Linked DNA regions of Homo sapiens: regions 2, 3 and 4 are each linked to region 1. The links are contacts of gene promoters, found by promoter capture Hi-C in human tissues and cell types (Jung and others, 2019). All regions are on one chromosome and are shown on one strand. Each heading gives the region's core, a stretch centred on a gene start or on the middle of the fragment in contact. The rest is flanking DNA. Distances are from core to core; before and after follow the strand shown.

Evidence for each region. The method cuts DNA at HindIII sites, captures the fragments that hold promoters and counts their contacts. A contact is called where the count stands out against the background at its distance.
Region 2: a fragment that was not itself captured here is called in contact with the fragment with the promoter of POC5 in region 1 in 2 of the 25 tissues and cell types used here (mesendoderm cells and thymus).
Region 3: a fragment that was not itself captured here is called in contact with the fragment with the promoter of POC5 in region 1 in 1 of the 25 tissues and cell types used here (H1 embryonic stem cells).
Region 4: a contact is called between a fragment that was not itself captured here and the fragment with the promoter of POC5 in region 1, in 2 of the 25 tissues and cell types used here (bladder and thymus).

What each region holds. Positions count from the first base shown.
Region 1 is chr5:75,716,098-75,719,460 of GRCh38, reverse strand. It overlaps POC5 (POC5 centriolar protein), which reads left to right and starts at 2,024. Exons shown (of 12, transcript NM_001099271.2): 1 at 2,024-2,155. LOC441087 (a long non-coding RNA gene) reads right to left here and starts at 2,029. Exons shown (of 3, transcript NR_149046.1): 1 at 1,877-2,029. RefSeq lists an enhancer at 2,319-2,628. The HindIII fragment of the contact is 10,988 bases long and covers 1-3,363 here.
Region 2 is chr5:76,092,284-76,095,576 of GRCh38, reverse strand. The region is part of intron 1 of SV2C (synaptic vesicle glycoprotein 2C); the gene reads right to left. Among named protein-coding and RNA genes, the nearest start is that of SV2C-AS1, 11 kb to the right of the region's middle. The HindIII fragment of the contact is 6,115 bases long and covers 1-3,293 here.
Region 3 is chr5:76,186,255-76,189,631 of GRCh38, reverse strand. All of the region lies in intron 2 of SV2C (synaptic vesicle glycoprotein 2C), which reads right to left. Among named protein-coding and RNA genes, the nearest start is that of SV2C-AS1, 100 kb to the right of the region's middle. The HindIII fragment of the contact is 3,512 bases long and covers 1-3,107 here.
Region 4 is chr5:75,419,275-75,422,223 of GRCh38, reverse strand. CERT1 (ceramide transporter 1) reads left to right here. Exons shown (of 17, transcript NM_001379029.1): 6 at 2,800-2,883. Among named protein-coding and RNA genes, the nearest start is that of HMGCR, 84 kb to the right of the region's middle. The HindIII fragment of the contact is 7,507 bases long and covers 1-2,949 here.

The DNA.
Region 1 (3,363 bases), core at 775-3,274:
GGATTGTTTACTAAATGGTTTGCGATAAAAATCTCTCCTCCCCAAAAAGGAAGACAGAAAAGAGAAACTTGGAGCCTAGTGGCAGGAGGGCACCAGAAGAGTGATTCAGTATCAATTATAGTGTATGGGGTCACCAAAAGGCAATTCAATTAAAAAACAAATACTAGAACCAAGTATGAATTTGCAGCTATTAATAGGAACTTGTCCTCTATAATAAGCATGAAAAAAAAGGGGGAGAACAAACATAATTTATGCCAAAGAAACTTCTGGTGCTCTTCTTACTTGTTTGTGTAAGTAGAAGTCTGGTTCTGCCAACATAAAAGTAAGTGAGACCCAGGTTATGTCATTTCTATCTACAGAAAAAGAAACCTTATACTGGAGGTAACAGAAGGGAGCCTGAAAACTCACCCAGATCTCAGTATCTGTTCTTCAGATTGCAGAACCCCAGTCTGGGCTACTTAGGTACCTTTGCCATCTGGGTCCTCATACCTCTAGCCTATCTGTTGCCAATGTAAGTTGAAAGACTATATGTTTGTGTGTTCGGTGTTTTAGATATATTAATTCCTTTAATCTCCTACCACCTTAGTATGTGAGTAGTATTATCCAAGGTGACAGCGAGTAGATGGTAAAGCTAGATTATAATTATGATCTGATTCTAAGGCCAATACTTCACCAGAAGGCTCTATCTTGAAGTCTGACACGTTTGAGATTAGTTAAAACTAGACTACCAATTTTGGTTTTTTCTTTGTTTTTTGAGACAGAGTCTCACTATCACCCAGGCAGGAGTGCAGTGGCGATATCTTGGCTCACTGCAACCTCTGCCTCCTGGGTTTAAGGGATTCTCCTGCCTCAGCCTTCGGAGTAGCTGGGACTACAGGCGTAAGCCACCACACCCGGCTAATTTTTGTATTTTTAGTAGAGATGGGGTTTCACCATGTTGGCCAGCCTGGTCTCGAACTCCTGACCGCAGGTGATCCGCCTGCCTCGTCCTCCCAAAGTGTTGGGATTACAGGCGTGAGCCAACGCGCCCAGCCTAGACTAGCAATTTCTCAAAGGGTGGTCTGCAGACTCCTGCATCAGAATCACTGGCAGTGTGTGTTAAAAATTCAGATTTCCTGACGGTGTCCATGACCGAAGGAATCAACACCTTCGGCCGGGCGTGGTGGCTCACGCCTGTAATCCCAGCACTTTGGGAGGCCGAGGTGGGCGGAACACCTGAGGTCAGGAGTTCGAGACCAGCCTGGCCAACATGGTGAAACTCCATCTCTACTAAAAATACAAAAATTAGCCAGGCGTGGTGGCGGTCGTCTGTAATCCCAGCTACTCGGGAGGCTGAGGCAGGAGAATCCCTTGAACCTGGGAGGCGGAGGTTGCAGTGAGCCGAGATAGTGCCACTGCACACCAGCCTGGACGGCAGAGCAAGACTCCATCTCAAAAAAAAAAAAAGCACCTCCAAGTGATTCTGTTGCAGGGGATCTGTGGATGATGCAGATTTTTTTTTTGTTTTTAATTTTTTATAGAGAAAGGGTCTCCCTATGTTCCCCAGACTAGTCTCGAACTCCCGGGCTCAAGCGATCCTCCCACTTCGGCCTCCCAAAGTGCCGGGATTACTGGCATGAACCACCACACCTGGCCCAGAATTTCGGATTGTTCTTATGCAGACGAAAGCATTAGGACTCATATCTAGGTTACCGGAATTGTTGAAAGCCAACAGCACACGGCATTAGCCAACTTCAGCCCTGCTCAACAGCCTCTATCCAAATCAGCTCCCGGAGCCGCTTAGCAGCCTGCAGCCGCTGAACAGAACTGAGCACGCGCAATATTTAATCCCCACGGGCGCTGGGTGGGGCTCCCTAGGACCCCGCCCCCTACCAACCTGCGGAGCCAGGGGGCGGGGCTCTCCAAAGTAATTCCGGCTTCTCCCGGCAGCGGCCCAAATCCCCGCCCCCAGCTCTCGGACCAATCAAACGGCAGATTGCTGAAACAAAGGACCAATGCCCAGGGCGGTCCTTAATTCCTCCCTGCAGTTTGAAACTGTCAGGTTGCCGTCTAGGTAGCGGTTGTGCTTGCTGAGGCTGCACTTGCTGACACTGCAGCTGCGACGCGGCTAAGAGGCGCAGAGCGAGGAGTCGGGATTTGGTCGCGAGCGGCGACGGTGGGTAGCAGCGCTCCGGGCAGATCCTGCGTCCCTGCATCCCTGGCGAAAGTAGTGGAGGGAGATTTAAAGTTCCTTGGCGCGTGTTTCCTCCCCCTGGGCTCTTCCCCAGACCGCGAGTGATTCAGCTGTTGTGCCGGAAGGTCCCAAAGTTTCCCCTCCGAGGCGTGCAGGAAGAGGAAGTGAGCAGGAGTGAGGGATGCTGAGCGATTACTGTCATCAGAGGTTCCGGTCACTTAAAACGTTGAGAAAAAATAACCATGTATAAAGCTCTGTTGTGCTTAAGTAAGATTTTTCTTAAAACAGGCTGGGTCGGAAGGTGATGGAAGAAAACTTATGGCCTTTTGCTTACTGCAATGGCTTTTCTCCTCTGCTTCTAGTCCCTGCTTTGGGGAGGGGCTGGCGCGCCCCTTTCCTTGAGTGCAGCTAGGCCTGGTGAAAGGCACAGGCGACATCACCCTGCTGCTAGTTTGCATGTTAATTCGCTCTTCCTTTGCCTCTTGGGGGTTCCATTTGAATTCCCAGACCCCTGTTTTGCTGTCAGCCAGATAATTACCAAGATGTTATTTTATGTTTCTGGCAACAGAGAAGCACACAAAAGTTTTGATCTTGTTTTCTGATACCTTGGATTAGAGACTACTGAAAATGTAGTGAACTAATGTGCGTCCGCCACCCATTAAAGCAGTTTTCATTTTTCTCCTTTGTTTCTGAACCTAGAAACAGTAAGGAAAATGCTACTGTTCTAGAGTTTCAAATAACTCATACCTTGTTGACATAAAGCAGGGCAGATGGAAGATAGCATATTTTCCAAGAGTGCGGTGGGTTTTTTTGTGTCTGCAGTGTGTCCATATTAAGAAACAATTTTTGAGATCTGACCATACTTACTAGCTCATTTTTAAATAATCAGCACCCCCCCCCCCCCACCCCTGTTACCTGCCTGGTCTCAAATCCTGAAGGAAGAAGTGAATAAAAATATAAATGGACCAAGTTATCACAGTGGTAGATTTGAAGTCAGTGAAGCAGCCATTCCTTGCTGCAGATACATGCACTTATTTTATCCTCCCTAATTGGCTTAACTAAAGACAGTCATGCTGAGATTTAGTTTACTTAACATGTGTATGCACAGTGATACTCACTGGAAAAAGTTGAACTTTCCTTTCCACAATTTAGTTCCAGCCTGTGTTTCCATTCTATTTTTGCACTTTTCC
Region 2 (3,293 bases), core at 323-2,822, 380 kb before region 1:
ATATAAAAACTTGACTGACCTGAGAAGTCAAAGCAATGAAATAAATACAATTAGATACAAGAATCACAGAGTCTACAAGATAAAAACAAACTAATGATGATAAATAACTATGCAATAAGTTTGACAATCCAGATAAAATTGACAAATTTCTTTTTAAAGGCAGCACACTAAAGCTGACATAAGAAGAAACTGAAACTCTGGATAGCCTTTATTGAAGAAACTGATTTGTTAATTAATAAGAGGCATATCAATGAAATTCTACTACTTCAGTTAATAATAATGTATCAGTAATGGCTCATCAATTGTGACAAATCTACTACATGGATGCAAGAACTGGGACCTCATGAGGGTGGAGTAACTGGGAACTCTGTACTTTATTTTCAATTTTTCTATAAACCACTCAAAAATATAAAGTCTGTTAATTTAAAAGCCTCTGAAACTATATATTTCATTTTAAACAAAAATTAAAATGGAGTATAGACCCAATTATAAAATGTAAAACTATAAAATCTCTAGAAAAAAAACATTGAAAGAAATCTATATAACCTTGGGCTTTTTGGTGAGATTTTTAGATACCACACAAACAGCATGATCCATGAAAGGAAAAAAAAGAGAAAAATTGGACTTTATTAAAATTTAAAACTCTTTTTCATCAAAAGACACTGTCAATAGTATAAAAAGACAAGCCACACTAGGAGGAAATATTTGCAAACACATATCTGATTAAATACATATCTGGTATCCAAAATACACAAAGAACTCTTAAAATTCAACAATAAGAAAGCAAGCAACCCAATTGAAAAATGGCAAAATATATAAACAGACACTGCATCAGAGAAGATATACAGAAGGTGTGGTATGCAGAAAAATGGTTCCCCAAAGATATATTCACTTCTTGATCCCCAGAACCTGTGAATACTACATTACATAGCAAAACATGCACAAGGATGTTCATAGATACTTTATTGATAATAGCTCCAATGTGGAAACAACTCAAACATCTACCAACAGATAAACAGAGAAACAAATTGTGGTATATTCATATAATGTAATACTATGCATTCAGCAATGACAAAGAATTGACTATTGATACACAAAAAAACATGAATCTTTTCAAAAATACGGTGTTAAAAAAAAGAAAACAGACACAAGAGTACATACTGTATGATTCCTTTTATTTGAATTTCAAGTATAAGCAAAACCAATCTTTGGTGATAAAAATTAGGACAGTGTCTCTGGGAAAGGAGGCAATGAATGAAAAGGGATACAGGGAACTTTCTAAGGTAATGGAGATATGCTTTTGGCTACACAGATGTATACACCTGTCAAACTGATCCAGCTATATATTTATAATCTATGTTTTCTGTGGAAAAAAATTATACCATCATGAATTTAATTGATAAAACAAAATCATTTCTCAGGAGACTCACAGTTTCTTATAGTGCTGAAACTCCAAAGACATTTTATTTATTTATTTATTTACTTGTTTGTTTCTTTATTTACAGAGTCTCACCATTTTGCCCAGGCTGGTCTTGAACTCCTAAGCTCAAGCAATCCTGTTTAAACCTCCCAAGTAGCAGGGACTACAGGTGTGTGCTACTGCATCCAGCTCCAAAAACATTTCTTGAATAGACAGTAATGAATAGGGCAACGGGTAATATAATGGGCAACATCCTTAAAATAAATATGGGAAGTTCCTTAAAACTGTTCCTTGGAATAGTGATGTCAAAGGGAAAGACATTAGAAGCAAGTCTACAAGGGGGAAAATAATTTGATAAGAGCCCAGTGTTCTCCAATGAGTTTCTTGGCCTTGTGATAAGAATTCAGAATATTTAGTACAGAGAGAGGGATGAATGCAATGTGCTTTATCCAGATCACTGCGGCTCAGAAGCCAGCTGATAGAGGAGAAATTTGAACAGTCTGGAAGTCAGTTTGTTGCATTCCGATTCACTGGAATGAGTTCATATTTGGAGGATAAGAAGAATAAGGCCCAGGTCTAAAGGACCGTGCAAGAACAGTTTTGTGAAATTCTGGACAAGGCATGGAGGTCAAATGATAGAATTGCTCATGAGGGGCTTAGAATTTGGTCACAAGCGAAGCTGCTTTGCAGGGCCAATGGCTAAGTGTGCAATTAATTAGGGGCTCTTTTCTCTGCCTCTACCTTGTGGACTGGAAGTTCTGGGCACCCAAACAACATTCTGGACACAGTCACACCACTCGCATGTCCACTGGCAGAAGCAAGACTCTGCCAAGCAGCTTCTCAGACCTTGCGCAGGGAACAATGGAATTCAGAGCAGGAGAGGGAGAACTTGATAAGCACCTCCAAAGGACTGAAGTCAGGATAGTGGGAGATAGTTATGACTGGAAGGAGCATGCAAGGGACCTCTGGGGCATTAGAAATATTCTTTCTGATTTTCGATGGGTGCTCTATAAAGAGACATGTTCAGTTTGTGAAAAGGCAGCTATACCCTTATTAAATATGCACTTTTCTTTCTATATAATATACCTTAATAAAAAAGGTTTAAAAATAATTTAAAATGCTTCCAGCCCCTATGTGTCCAGTGCCAGGAGTTACAAATATCTCAGTGGCTTGGCCTCTTCCTCAAGGTATAAAAGTCTAGTAGGAAAATACACATAGAGCAGCCACCATGACATAATATGAGACGCACTCCACAGCTGGAGCTGCAAGGGGCCTAGGAGAGACTGAGAAAGAGCTGTGGAGTGTCATGAAAAGGGACCTTCGAGCTGAGGATTGAAGGATGATTAGGAGACTTTTCCACAGATAAATATGTGTATGGCGGGAGTTGGGGAAGAAGAGATGGTAGGAGGGAGAACATTCCCAGCCCACAGCAAGAGAAGATAAAAAAATGCCAATCTCCCATCCCGTCAAATACACAGTCGAGTAGAGTGAAAAATGTGCCTAAAAGCAAAATATTCCAAGTATTAATACAGGCTTTTGACAGCTATTGGACAAATAAGATTTATTGAGGATGGGGGTGGAGGAATGGGGGTCGATCCTCAGCTCTAGTGACCTAAGTCAGCAATGAGCAGCCCCTGCTCAAAGGTCACTGTATTGAGTGTTTATAGCCATGTTCCTTTTTCATTCAAAATGAAAATAGTTGTATTGAGTACCAAAGCAATTTACGTTCTCACAACTTAGATGACCTCACCTACATTATTGCCTGGAAAAAGATCCATGAGAAAAACTGGCACCACTTTTTTAGCCACTAGAACACTAATACTTACACATGCTTGAAAAACAGCATTGCAGGTGTATATTGAAATTAATATTT
Region 3 (3,377 bases), core at 102-2,601, 470 kb before region 1:
TCTGCATCCAAAGATGATCAAACGAATGTATGCTTATAGGTTAAAACACCATATTTACATACATATTTATATTTTTGCATGTTTTCCTGCATTTACCAACTTTTCTACTAACCAACTAATTACCAGACCTGATTTAGTCAGGTAAGGGGGTTTCTACCATGCCTCTGAAGACCCCTAAAAGTATGCTTTGTGCTTAAAGAAATCAGCTACTGGAATAGTCACTGCAAATTGGTTTGTTTTATTACCAAAGGCAACACTGAAAATGATATCCTCTTAAGGTCAATTCTAGGAAGCCAAGGGAAGACCACACTCAGCCAACAATTTTGGGGTTCCAGGAGCAGGGACAACAGGGCAGCAGCTGTGAAAGCTTACACATCAGTGTAAGCTCCGTCTCTCCTATTTCCTCAAAGAGTCATTTTTTTTTTCATTTTATGCTAGAAAAATCCTTGGACAAAGGTGCCAAGGTACCCTGGACTAGCTCTAGTCTCCCTCTAACTATACTTAAGATCTCAGGCCAGTCTTCTAGCTTCCGCCTGTGTCAAATGCTTGGTTTGGGCTAGATGTTGGGTCAGTCAGTCCTGCAAAGTTGGCCCAGCCTTTCCTTTCTGTGTGCATGGGGGTGGGAGTGGGGTGCCTCTCTCCCTTTTTGGCCTCTTATGGACCCTCCCCACCTAATCACTGAGGTGTAAGCTTTCACAGCTGCTGCCCTGTTGTCCCTGCTCCTGGAACCCCAAAATGGTTGGCTGAGTGTGGTCTTCCCTTGGCCAGACTCCATCAGAGTCCATAGAAGGCTGACTCCAGGGACCACTGTCCCTCTCCAGCTGTCCCTGCCCCCCACCCAAGATGCTAAGTAGGCTGTAACATCTCCTTGTTATCCACAATTTGCTATTTTTTGTCATTACTGGTTACAAATTCTGTGTCTGATTAGAAATGATAGCATGAAATCTCAAGCTCAGTACTTGTTCTATTAAATTCTTTCATTAATAGTGCTGAGAAGTGAATCCATTATTAAAGTAATGGGGGTTAAGATGGGGGAAAAATAACTTTATTATTTTTTAAATCAAATGCAGTATGCTTAGTCTTCATTCTACTACCATTTACCACTCTGAACTTTGGGTCAGGTAGCAAATAGTTAAGAGCCTGGGCTCTTAAAACAGATGGCTTAGATCTGAACCCTTCCCCAACCAGTTCCTAGCTGTGTGACCTAGAGTTACTTAAGTTCCTTGTGCTGCCTCAGTTTTCTCCTCTGTATAGTGGGGCTAATAACAGTACCTACTTCACAGGGTTTTGAGAGATTAAATGAGATAAAGTGCTTAGTACTGTGTAAAACACACAGTTGTCCAATAAGCAACAATTATTATTATTATTTTTGAGAGGGGGTCTCACTCTGTCACCCAGGTTAGAGTGCAGGGGCATGATCTCAGCTCACTGCAACCTCTGTCTCCCAGGTTCAAGTGATCCTTCTACCTCAGCCTCCCAAATAGTTGGGACTACAGGTGCGTGCCACCATGTCCAGCTAATTTTTTGTATTTTTCGTAGAGATGGGGTTTCACCATATTGCCCAGGCCTGGTCTCTAACTCCTGAGCTCAAGCAATCCACCTGCCCTTAGCTCCCAAAGTGCTGGGATTACAGGCATGAGTCACTGCACCCGACCAACAATTATTAATATTACTATTGGCATCACGTAAAGAGAAAAGCGGAGAAATAAAATAGTGATGGAAAAGAAAAAGCAGGAATTAAAGAAGATGGATCTGGAATGGTAGAAAAAGTGGAATGACAACTTTTCACCTTCCTTAACTCAAGTTCTGAAAAGAAGATACCTGAAACAGCACTGAAAGAGTAATTTTCTAAATCCCTAAGACATATTTTTTTTTTTTTTTGCAATTTGAAACTATTTAAATACATAATTAATAGGCTTCTAAAACTGATCCCTCACTTTTTCAATTACTATTTTTAGTAGCCACAAGTAGGGGCCATTATGTGTTCAAAAGCATCTGTGGACTTTCACAAAATCAAATAAAAGCAAAGAAAGTAATAACATCAAAGGCATATGTACAAAGGGGGGAAAACCTTTCTAATTTGCATGAGAGAATATTTACCACAAAAGCCAGCTCTTCTTAGCTAGAAAGAACTGTAAATATCAGATGCAGTCTATAGCATATCTTTGACTTTTACCTTAGGGAAGTCTGACATTTAAGTTTGCTGGTCCAAGCAGAGACCAAACATGGGCAGATAATGCCATGTCAAGCAATAGTGCTACTTGTTACCTAAGTTCACCTGGGCACTAAAAAGCACATGCGGGCCTAAGACAGTTTTCCTGAATCCAATGAGCAAACTGTAGAAGAAGAGGCCTAATAATGAAGCCCAATCTATTCTCTAATGTCGTTCCTCAAATGGCTGTTGTACAGCATGCCCATCAGACAGGGGAGGAGACATTACAGTGTTTTGTGCATGTATGGCTCTGCAGGCCCCCTTGTTATTTGAAGCAATTTTTTAAAAGTCTTAGGAATCAAGAACATTAAAGCGAATCACCTTGTGGTGTACCATGGACATCGCATATCAGTTTAACACCAATGGGATCCCCATCCCTTGCGAGGTTCTCCTACTCCAAGTTCTGTGCTGAGGGAGAAAAGTGGTGATATGCTCTGGCTCTGTGTCCCCACCCAAATCTTACCTCGAATTGTAATAATCCCCATGTGTCAAGGGCAGTACCAGGTGGAAATAATTGAATCATAGGGGTGGTTCCCTCATTCTGTTCTCATGATAGTGAGTGAGTTCTCATGAGATCTGATGATTTTATAAGGGGCTTCCCGCTTTGGTCAGTGCTCATTCTCCTGCTGTCCTGTGAAGAGGTGCCTTCCACCATGATTGTAAGTTTCCTGAGGCCTCCCCATCCCTGTGGAACTGCGAGTCAATTAAATGTCTTTGTTTGTTTGTTTGAGATAAGGTCTCACTTTGTTGCCCAGCCTGGAGTGCAGTGGTGTAACCTTGGCTCACTGCAACCACCGCCTCCTGGATTCAAGCAATTCTCTTGCCTCAGCCTCCTGCATAGCTGGGATCACAGGTGTGTGCCACCATGCCCAGCTACTTTTTGTATTTTTAGTAGAGATGGGGTTTCACCATGTTGGCCAGGCTGGGATCGAACTCCTGATCTCAGGTGATCTGCCTGCCTTGGCCTCCTCAAGTACTGTGATTACAGGCATGAGCCACCATGCCTGGCCAACCTCTTTTCCTTATAAATTACTCAGTCTTGGGTATTTTTTCATAGCAGTGTGAGAATGGACTAATACACTAAATTGGTACTGGGTAGTGAAGCACTGCTCTAAAGATACCCGAAAATGTGGAAACGACTTTGGAACTGGGTACCAGCCAGTTG
Region 4 (2,949 bases), core at 248-2,747, 300 kb after region 1:
AAATAGATGTCTGGCTGATACTGTAATCATCTCGGGGAGCTTTAAAAAAGAAATAATTGTATCATACCCTTCACCATAGTCTCACTAAACCAGAATATTCAGGGGTTGAGGGGAGAGAGAGAGATTAACGTTTTGTTCTTTAAAAGTTCCTTGATAGGTAGATAATCAAAAGTTCCTTGATATGTGGATACCCTCTCTAGTAGAAGTATGAGCTAGCATTATAAACAAGCCTTCTGAAGGCAGAAGGAAAGCACAGCAGAAAGGGGAAAACAAATATTGTACAGAAGGCTTTTGAGTTTTCCAAGAAAACAACTCCTTTAAATTGTGAGAATAGGTCAAATCTAGAGCAAATGAAATATCTCCTGCTTCTGTAGAAAAGAATGCATGAAGGTAGAGTTGAAGAGTGAGTAACAAACTGTTTTAACTTTTCATTGATATGATGCAAAAAAGTAGGGAAATTTGAAAAGGCCCCGGGAAGTAAGGATCTCAAAAGGTACTTGAAGGTCATCTTTATGGGATTATGCCAGGGGACTAATTTAGGAATAGTCGTATTATAACTTCAACTGATGGTCAGCATGATTTTTTATCTGAGTATGGTTTAAAAATAATGTATCTAAAGACATTGCACAGCATATTTATTGAGCATATGAGATCTTACTCATCTTTGTATTTTCACTGGTAATCAAGATATGCTCATATTGAAGTCTGTAGGAATGATGGAAGTGGAAAAGAAAAAGAATTGAATATTGAGATCACAGCCAGGTAGAAATGAATACAGGGTATTAATAGATAATAGTTTATGATTTGTAAGAGTTGTTATAGATGATTGACAACATTTTCAAGTGGTTATAAAAAAATGAAATAGTCCAGTAATTAGAAAATGGCAGTACAGAAGATTTTCCATGGTGATTCCTACCATTTAATCAAAGAAGGGAAATAAGGTATCGAATTGGGCTCTGCATCCATAAAAAAGACAGCTAAGATAGATGAGATGTTCCTTATAGAGCCACGGTGCTCCTGATGTAAAAAGATACATGCAGTAAGTAAGACATTAGTTTAAAATGTAGATTCCTTCTTTATAAAGGGAGTTCCTGAAAAGATAAAGGAGCCATGTAGGCTGGGTGCAGTGGCTTACACCTGTAATCCCAGCATTTTGAGAGGCAGAGGTGGGCAGATTGCTTGAGCTCAGGAGTTTGAAACCGGCCTGGGCAACATGGCAAAACCTCATCTCTACAAAAATTAGCTGGGCTGGTGGTGTGCACCTGTGTTCCCAGCTGCTCAAGGGGCTGAGTAGGATTGCTTGAGCCTGGGAGGTGGAGGTTGCAGTGAGCTGAGATTGTGCCACTGCACTCCAGGCTGGGCAACAGAGCCAGACCCTGTCTCACAAACAAGAAGAAGAAGAAGCCACAAAAAGCTTGATAAAAGCAGCAAATAATGTTGGGAACTAAGATGCAGGAATTTGCATTATGAGTGGAATGCGTAGTACAGAGAATTAAAGCATGTGGCGTAGTAGAAAAAGGGATAGCACATAGAAGAAAGAGGTATGTTAAAGTAGAACAAGAGAGATTCTGTTTTTGTCTGGAATTAGAGAAAAGGGATGCCTGGATACAGATACAGCCTGGGATGAATGAAAATTGATATCATGGTCAGGAGATTGAGACCGGATTCCTGGCTAACATGGTCAAACCCCGTCTCTACTAAAAATACAAAAAATTAGCCAGGCATGGTGGCAGGCGCCTGTAGTCCCAGCTACTCGGGAGGCTGAGGCAGGAGAATGGTGTGAACCCGGGAGGTGGAGCTTGCAGTGAGCCGAGATCGCGCCACTGCACTCCAGCCTGGGCGACAGAGCAAGACTCCGCCTCAAAAAAAAAAAAAACAGTCGATATCATATCTGCAAGTCATTATATTTTCCTTGCACATCAGAAATAGTATATATAAGAACTCTCGCCTGGGTGTGGTCACTCACACCTGTAATCCCAGCACATTGGGAGGCCGAGGTGGGCGGATCATGAGGCCAGGAGTTTCGAAACCAGCCTGGCCAACATAGTGAAACCCCTTCTCTACTAAAAATACAAAAATATTAGCTGGCTGTGGTGGCACGCACCTGTAGTCCCAGCTACTTGGGAGGCTGAGGTGGAAGAATTGCTTGAACCTAGGAGGCAGAGGTTGCAGTGAGCCGAGACCATGCCATTGCACTCCAGCCTGGGTGACAGAGTGAGACTCCATCTACAAAAAAAAAAAAAAGAACAACTCTTAGAGGCAAGCTAAGGTGTCTTCTGCATAGAAGGCACCCTTATAGTCCTGTTCAGCCCTTCTGGTCCTCTTACAGAGTGGAAATGGCCCCACGGAAGGGAGCAAGAGATAGGAAGACTACAGGGTGAAATAATTCATAACTCAGTAACCTTCCCTTACACAAATGAGAGTGAATATGGTTTAAAAATAATGTATCTAAAGACATTCCACATATTTGGGTGGCAAAAATAAATAGATGGCTGATACTGTAATCATCTCGGGGAGCTTTAAAAAGAAATAATTGTATCATACCCTTCTCCATAGTCTCACTAAATGAGAATATTCAGGGGTTGAGGGGAGAGAGAGAGATTAAGATTTTGTTCTTTAAAAGTTCCTTGATAGGTAGATATTTATTGAGCATACCTTGATTACCAGTGAAAATACAAAGATGAGTAAGACTTCATACTCAGAATCAGAATCCAGAGTAAAATGACTCAGTTGAACATAAGAATAGACATTAATTTCTATTTCTTTTCATCCTAATTTCCTTAAATATATTTTATTTAGTGGTAGAAGATGATGAAGATGACTTTCCTACAACGCGTTCTGATGGTGACTTCTTGCATAGTACCAACGGCAATAAAGAAAAGTGTAAGTAATACATTTTTCCCCTCAGCTGGATAAAATATACTTTCAGAAGTTATGTAACAACTCACA